Regions from separate parts of the Homo sapiens genome. Here regions 2 and 3 are each linked to region 1. Evidence: promoter capture Hi-C in human tissues and cell types (Jung and others, 2019). All regions are on one chromosome and are shown on one strand. The core of a region is centred on a gene start or on the middle of the fragment in contact, and the rest is flanking DNA. Distances in the headings are between cores, read along the strand shown. Region 1 holds the start of GALR1 (galanin receptor 1). Region 2 has its middle 36 kb from the start of GALR1. Region 3 has its middle 55 kb from the start of GALR1.

Region 1 (2,700 bases), core at 173-2,672:
CCCCACCGGCCCTCCGCCCTCCCTCGCGCGTCTCGGCCCCGCGACCGGCGTGCACCTTGGCATAGCAGAAGCAGATGAGCAGGAGCGGCAGCAGGTAGCCGAAGACGAAGGTGCACACCACGTAGGCCTTCTTGTGGCGAGGGTCGGGCCACTGCTCCCAGCAGAAGGTCTGGTTGCTGGCGCGCGGGTGGAAGAGGCCCTGGTGGTAGGCCACGGGCGAGGCCATGGCAATGGACAGCGCCCAGATGCAGCCCACGCCCAGCAGCGCGTTGCGGGACACCCTGAGGGAGGAGGAGCGCCGCGAGTGCACGATGGCCACGTAGCGGTCCACGGACATCGCGGCCAGGGTGAAGATGCTCACCAGCATGGACACGGTGAAGAAGTAGTGGATGAACTTGCAGATGAAGGCGCCCAGCACCCAGGTGGGCAGCGCGTACACGGTGGCCTGGAAGGGGATGCAGAAGAGCAGGTAGGCCAGGTCGGCGATGCTCAGGTTGAGGATGAACAGGTTGGTGGTGCTCCGCGGCTTGCCCGGCTTGCTGCGCGCCAGCACGGTGATCACTAGGCTGTTGCCCAGCACACCCAGCGCGAAGATCAGGCCGAACACCACCAGCGTGACGAAGTTCTCCACGCCGATGCCGAACAGCGGCCCGGGCTCCGGGGCGGGGGGCTCCGGCCAGCTCGCGTTGCCCTCGCTGAGGTTCCCGACCGCCAGCTCCATGGCCCGCGGGGCTGTCCCGGCGAGCGGCGGGGCGCGCGGGGAGGGAGGGCGGGATAGTAGGCGCCGGGGGTGGCCAGGGGTCCCGGCGCAAAGCACGGAGAGTGCGAGTTTAGGAGTCTGAGCTTCCCCCGAGGCGCGAGCCAGCGGGAGCGGGGATCCGGTGGCCGTGCCTGGTGGCACCGTCTTTGCGCCGGGACCTTCTGAGAGAGGGTGGGTTCGGGAGCCCGGAGCTGGACCTTCTCGGGAAGGGACGGTGATCTCGAGAGCACTGGGGTCCCCTTCCCGGGCGCCTCCGCCCGCTGCGCGACCACGGAGCCTGGGAAGAGGGATCCGCCGGCTGCAGCCGCGCAGGTGGAAAGACCCTTCTCTCCGCCTTACCGCTCCAGATCTTCGCCGGCGGTTTTCCCTGGCTCCCGGAGGGGCTGCGTGCTGCACCTGTTGCTCGGAGCCGCTCCTTCCCGCGGCGCTTCCCCGCACTGCCCAGCGCGCAGCAGTGCACTGTGCGGCTCCTGCAGAGAAGGCTCCCCGCGCATCCCGCGCGCCCAGCGCCACCTCCCCAGTGGGCTGGCGCCTCCGACTCCCTCCCGGCTTTTCCAGGGATTCCGAGTCGTCCACAGGGCGAGAGCTCTTTTGGGAGGCTTCCTGGTGGTGGATAGAGTCGGGTGCCAGGGGCTTCTCTGCTGCAACTGAGAGGCGAAAACAGCTCGGCTGAAATCCGCGCCCCTTAGAAGTCACGGTGCGCGAGCAGAGACTGGACGGATTCTAGCGGGATGGGTCGCCGCCCACCTCCCGGCTGGAACCGGAGCGCGCTCGCCTCTGCGGAGTGCGGACCTGCCCGGCGGGCTGAAGGCGGGGCTGCCGGATGCCGCGGGCCAGGCGGGCGAGGGAAGCCGGGCGCGCTCCAGGGCGTTCCAGGGCGCGCCGGGGTGGGAGGCGGAGGGGTGCGCGGGCCTCCTCATCCATTAGTGCCTTTCCTCCTCCTCCTCCCCAGGGTGGCTGTCCGTGAGAACGCCTCTCTCCCAGGAATAACCCCAGGAAATCGAGGCTGGCGACGCTCCCTGGAGTTTTGTAAAATTGGCCGCCTAATCCCACCCTCACCCCGCGGCCTGCTACAGAGGAGAGAAGTGCAAAGGGAAAGGGCCGCGTGAGCTTCTCTATAGACGTGGCTGACATGGAAGGGGAAGGCTGTTCACACCACCCAACCTCACTTCATTTTTGCCTTGTATTACTCATCTGAGGGACATAAACTGCAGCAGTGACAAACGAAATATTTTTAAAGTGAAAGAAAGTGTTTAGTATCTTACTGCCGTAAATGTGGATTTGCCAGAAAGAAATTAAGCCGTTTCGGTATAGCAGGGCCAGTCACGTTAGCTTTGTAACCTTGGTGGTTCCCAGCTAGAGAGCTGACACTGATTCCTTTATTTGCGGTGATTTGTCTGTTTTCACTTTCAAAAACACCGATGCGTTTCCAGCATTCACCATCTGGTGACTGTCCATTATGCGCGGACGCAGTGCCTGAGGGGATGGGTAATCCAAAGACCAAAGAGGGCAGGGGCTCTTTGCCTTGAGGAGTTAAGGAAGTAGGATCTTGTTTTTCTACCTTGCTAGCTCTGTTCTGCCTCATTTCCAGATAAATCTTGATGCAGTTCATTGAACATCTATGTATTTTATCTACATTCATTGCTAGGGAGTTCCTTGCAAGGGAATTGTTCTATTCACACACATTTTCTGGAAGACAAAATTGAGTGTAAGCAACTTGCCTATTTGGGTATCCTGCTAAAGCCAAGAATGCTCTTACCTGCCCCGACCTGAGAGAATGCCTTGAAACTTCCTCAGGTGATCTTGCCAATCCGTATTGCTTTTCTTCCCTGAGACGCTCTCCGACCCAGGCTTTCAAAGTATCATGTTGTATTTGACAGCTCTGTTGCATTGAAAGTTAGTAGTAATATGATTTGGGAGAGTTTTTAAATTATGAACTA
Region 2 (2,700 bases), core at 139-2,638, 36 kb before region 1:
CCACTCCTATTCAACATAGTGTTGGAAGTTCTGGACAGGGCAGTCAGGCAAGAGAAAGAAATAAAGAGTATTCAATTAGGAAAAGAAGAAGTCAAATTGTCCCTGTTTGCAGATGACATGATTGTATGTTTAGAAAACCCCATTGTCTCAGCCCAAAATCTCCTTAAGCTGATAAGCAACTTCAGCAAAGTCTCAGGATACAAAATCAAAGTGCAAAAATCACAACCATTCTTATACACCAATAACAGACAAACAGAGAGGCAAATCATGAGTGAACTCCTATTCACAATTGCTACAAAAAGAATAAAATACCTAGGAATCCAACTTACAAGGGATGTAAAGGACTTCTTCAATTAGAAATACAAACCACTGCTCAATGAAATAAAAGAGGAGACAAACAAATGGAAGAACATTCCATGCTCATGGATAGGAAGAATCAATATCATGAAAATGGCCATACTGCCTAAGGTAATTTGTAGATTCAATGCCATCCCCATCAAGCTACCAATGACTTTCTTCACAGAATTGGAACAAACTACTTTAAAGTTCATATGGAACCAAAAAAGAGGCTGCATTGCCAAGAGAAGCCTAAGCAAAAAGAACAAAGCTGGAGGTATCACACTACCTGACTTCAAACTATACTACAATGCTACAGTAACCAAAACAGCATGGTACTGATACCATAACAGATATGTAGACCAATGGAACAGAACAGAGGCCTCAGAAATAACACCACACATCTACAACCATCTGATCTTTGACAAACCTGACAAAAACAAGAAATGGGGAAAGGATGCCCTATTTAATGAATGGTGCTGGGAAAACTGGCTAGCCATATGTAGAAACCTGAAACTGCATCCCTTCTTTACACCTAATACAAAAATTAATTCAAGATGGATTAAAGACTTAACTGTTAGACCTAAAACCATAAAAACCCTAGGAGAAAACCTAGGCAGTACCATTCAGGACATAGACATGGGCAAGGACTTCACGAGTAAAACACCAAAAACAATGGCAACATAAGCCAAAATAGACAAATGGGATCTAATCAAACTAAAGAACTTCTGCACAGCAAAAGAAACTACCATCAGAGTGAACAGGCAACCTACAGAATGAGAGAAAATGTTTGCAATCTACCCATCTGACAAAGGGCTAATATCCAGAATCTACAAAGAACTTAAACAAAATTTACAAGAAAAAATCAAACAATCCCATCAAAAAGTGGGCAAAGGATATGAACAGATACTTCTCAAAAGAAGACATTTATGCAGCCAACAGACACATGAAAAAATGCTCATCATCACTGGTCATCAGAGAAATGCGAATCAAAACCACAATGAGATACCATCTCATCCCAGTTAGAACGGCAATCATTAAAAAGCCAGGAAACAACAGATGCTGGAGAGGATGTGGAGAAATAGGAATGGTTTTACACTGTTTGTGGGAGTGTAAACTAGTTCAACCATTGTGGAAGACAATGTGGTGATTTCTCAAGGATCTACAACTAGAAATACCATTTGACCCAGCGATCCCATTACTGGGTATATATCCAAAGGATTATAAATCATGCTACTTTAAAGACACATACACATGTATGTTTATTGCAGCACTATTCACAATAGCAAAGACTTGGAACCAACCCAAATGTCCATCACTGATAGACTGGATTAAGAAAATGTGGCACATATACACCACAGAATACTATGCAGCCATAAAAAAGAATGAGTTTATGTCCTTTGCAGGGACATGGATGCAGGTGGGAACCATCATTCTGAGCAAACTATTGCAAGGACAGAAAACCAAACACCACATGTTCTCACTCATAGGTGGGAATTGAACAATGAGAACACTTGGACACAGGGCGGGGAACATCACACACCGGGGTCTGTCGTGGGGTCGGGGGCAGGGGGAGGGATAGCATTAGGAGAAATACCTAATGTAAATGACAAGTTAATGGGTGCAGCAAACCAACATGGCACATGTATACCTATGTAACAAACCTGCACATTGTGCACGTGCACCCTAGAACTTAAAGTATAATAATTAAAAAAAAAAAAGAATTCTCAAGTGAAGCCATCTGCTCCTGGATTTCTCCTTGTGGGAAGTTTTTTTTATTATTATAACTAACCCAATCACTTTACTGTGTGTTATTTTATCGTCCTCTTTCCCTATAAGATCAGTAGTATTGTTCTTCCTTTCATCTTGATTTTAGTCATTTAATTCTTTTCTGTTTTTCTTGGTCAGTCTTGTTAAGGCTTTTTCAACCTTTTAAAGGTTTTCAAAGACTGACTTTTGGTTTCATTGATTTTTTGCTACTCTGTTTCTATTCTCTAGTTCATCTGTTTCCACTTTAATCTTTATTGCTTCTTTCTTTCTGCTAGCTTTGGATTTAGTTTGCTCTTTTTTATAGTGTCTTAAGGTTGAAGGTTATATTATTGATTTGAGATGTTTCTTCTTTTTCAGCATAGGTGTTTACAACTCTAACCTTCTCTCTGAGCCCTACTTCTGTTACTTTCATGATTTTTGGTATCTTTTTAACTCACCACCGTGGTTTCCTATTTACCTTTTGATTTCTTTTGGGATCCATTTGTTATTTAGGAGCATGTGTTCAATTTCAACATATTTGTGAATTTCCCAAGTTCCCTTCTGTTATTGATTCTAATTCCCTTCCACTGTTGTCAGATAATATATTTTGTATAT
Region 3 (2,700 bases), core at 130-2,629, 55 kb before region 1:
TGCACTCCAGCCTGGACAACAGAGCGAGACTCTGTCTAAAAAATAAGAAAAAATTTTTTAAAGAGTTTAAGGCCCCTCCTTAAAGAGAATGCAGTTTTCTCATCCATTTCCTATTTAAATAAATTGGGGCTCAAATGTCATTTAAAATTTTGAATGCTCATGAAATGACGAATTCTGTTTCATGCTGTCTTTGGCAATGCAATCACTTAAAAACTTTGCAGGCTTCTTATCCCCTTTGTTCAAGTCGATTCTGTATGCCAGCTGCCACACTCGAGGTCCTCAGGTCTGCTCTACAGACTGGATCAGCCTTTACGCCTGTCTCTTTTGCACTAGAAGGCAGCTTGAGGCTGTCTGGCTTCTGTAGGGAGCCTTGATCCCTTTATGCCTAGCGTTCCATTATTGGAACGCTAAGCACGTGGAAGTTATTTATATCCTACTGCTCAAGGTCATTGCCAAGGTCTGATCACAAAAATTCAAAAAATTATAATCTCAGGCATAAATGGGTTGATCTGACTCTTCTCATCTATCTAATAGGATTTATTGGGTGCAACATCTTAAATCTCATCTTTGCCACTTGACAAGTTAATCAGTTGGAAGATTTTACCAGGTGTCTGTCTCTAGAAATCTTTCTCAATATAATATTCATGATCTGGGGGCCAGAAACAGCCTGTGCTTCCAAATTTGAAAGGCACAGAATTGCTGGAGTTTCTCCATATCCTTTTACTTCTGCTTGCAAACTGGAAAATGCTTTCTCTTTCCTGTAGTGTATTTACAAAACCGAGTGGTTTCTTGCCCTAGAGCTGTACGTCCAACTGCTGCACAAGCTGTCTCTCGAGTTATCACTGACCTCAGTTACAGGCACTTGGCTAATACGTGTTGCCATCTTTCCAGACAGCGATAACAGTTTTACCACCACGCACCACGAGACCCTGAACCAATGATGAATATGCTGAGTTTTTGTTAAAATGGCACTGCCCTTCCAGTTTCAGGATGAGCTAGGGTAAAGCTGAGCAGTGAACCACCTCTGTATCTCGGTGTCTGCCACAATAGAAGCCCCACCAACCTCATCTCTGCTTAGGATGCACTAGCAAACAGCCGCGGCAGTCCAGTGATTTAACATACCCAATACTTATTTCTTATTCTTGCTGCCTAAAGGCAACACTTTTATGTTTAAGGTTTCTCCTTAAAGAGAATGCAGTCTCATGGGCCAAAACAGGTCTCTGATCTACAATCCTCTGAGACGCAGTTGCTCAGCCACAAATGCTTTGCTGTTCTTGCAGCTGCGCCATCTGGAGCACAGGCCTCCCCTGGTCATTAGTCAGCTCCTTCAAGCTTCAGCCACTGCCCACTGATGGGATCAGTCGTGCGTCCACCCAGCAGCAAGGAGCCTGAGATGTGCTTGGGCACCATCGCCATCGCCAGTGCTAAGAAGATAAAACAGTCTCTGTGCTGTTGCCACCAGATCTGCTGCAACGATTTCTTTACCTCTTACTCCTGCCTCAAGATATCCCAATCTGCATTCTTCCAATCCCATTCCAGCTCTATCTGCTCTCATTTAGGATTTTAGTCACTGCTGTGATGCCAAACCTAGGAGAGATCCCCCATCCTCATCGCAGCAGACTTGTCAGCAGTTTTTGATGCATGTGTGAGTGCATGTGTGTGCATATGTGCGTGTGTATGTGTGCATTGTGTGTGCGTGTACATTTGTACATGTGTGTGCATGTGTGCGTGTGTGCATGTGTGCATTTGTACATGTGTGTGCATGTGCACAGCATCCATCAGCATCAGCGTCTGCTAACTTAGGAAGATCACACACCTGGCTCTGTGTGAGGAGAAGGCTCTAGAAAGCAACATGAGACATTCACCCTAATTTTATTTTCAATTACAGATTAACGTTCATTGTTCTCAGACCTGGAGTTTCTTTTCTCAAAATTAAGTTGGTCTTTTTCTTGTGGATGGAATGAAGTGCTGCCAGCTGAAGCCAGGTTGATCTGGTGAGAGACGTCCAACAGATGAGACAGATGTGTGCAGCCTATTGAAAAACTGAGGCTTGAGCCTTTTAAAAACAGTCAAATATATTTTATATTGTTAAAAAAAACTGACAAAGATAAGTCCAAAGTGCTCACCTAGCCCCTGCAAGCCCTTCCCACCCTTGGTCCTGTGTCCTCTGCAGCCTCACGCTGTGCCATTCTGCCGCTGGTTTTCAGTGTTCCAGCCCGTAAAGACCTGCTTAGGATGCAGTCTTCATGCAAGACTGCAAAATAATCTTCTGCTTCAAGAGCTGTGTGTCTGTGGATCCACCACGTCCTGGTCTCTCTTCTCACCTTCCTGTCTGCCTGCGATTTTTCTCATCCACCTCCATACACTTGACACCTGTACGTTCTTTTTTAGGAATAGTTTCCTTGCCTCTGCAAACACAATGTTAGTCTATTCTCATGCTGCTAATAAACACATACCGGGGACTGGGTAATTTATAAAGGAAAGAGGTTTAGTGGACTCACAGTTCCACATAGGCTGAGGAGGCATCACAATCATGGCAGAAAGCAAAGGAGAAGCAAAGGCATGTCTTACACAGAGGAAGGCAAGAGAGCTTCTGCAGGGGAACTCCCATTTATAAAACCATCAGATCTCATAAGACGAATTCACTACCATGAGAACAGTATGGGGGAAACCATCTCCATGATTCCATTATCTCCACCT

What was found. The method cuts DNA at HindIII sites, captures the fragments that hold promoters and counts their contacts. A contact is called where the count stands out against the background at its distance.
Region 2: a fragment that was not itself captured here is called in contact with the fragment with the promoter of GALR1 in region 1 in 1 of the 25 tissues and cell types used here (stomach).
Region 3: a contact is called between a fragment that was not itself captured here and the fragment with the promoter of GALR1 in region 1, in 1 of the 25 tissues and cell types used here (dorsolateral prefrontal cortex).

What each region holds. Positions count from the first base shown.
Region 1 is chr18:77,248,570-77,251,269 of GRCh38, reverse strand. It overlaps GALR1 (galanin receptor 1), which reads right to left and starts at 1,422. Exons shown (of 3, transcript NM_001480.4): 1 at 56-1,422. The coding sequence starts at 721. It overlaps LOC124904329 (a long non-coding RNA gene), which reads left to right. Exons shown (of 2, transcript XR_007066422.1): 1 at 1-422; 2 at 1,713-2,700. RefSeq lists enhancers at 1-443, 1,115-1,786. The HindIII fragment of the contact is 7,211 bases long and covers 1-2,700 here.
Region 2 is chr18:77,284,698-77,287,397 of GRCh38, reverse strand. No RefSeq gene overlaps it. Among named protein-coding and RNA genes, the nearest start is that of GALR1, 36 kb to the right of the region's middle. The HindIII fragment of the contact is 5,849 bases long and covers 1-2,700 here.
Region 3 is chr18:77,303,105-77,305,804 of GRCh38, reverse strand. No RefSeq gene overlaps it. Among named protein-coding and RNA genes, the nearest start is that of GALR1, 55 kb to the right of the region's middle. The HindIII fragment of the contact is 3,216 bases long and covers 1-2,700 here.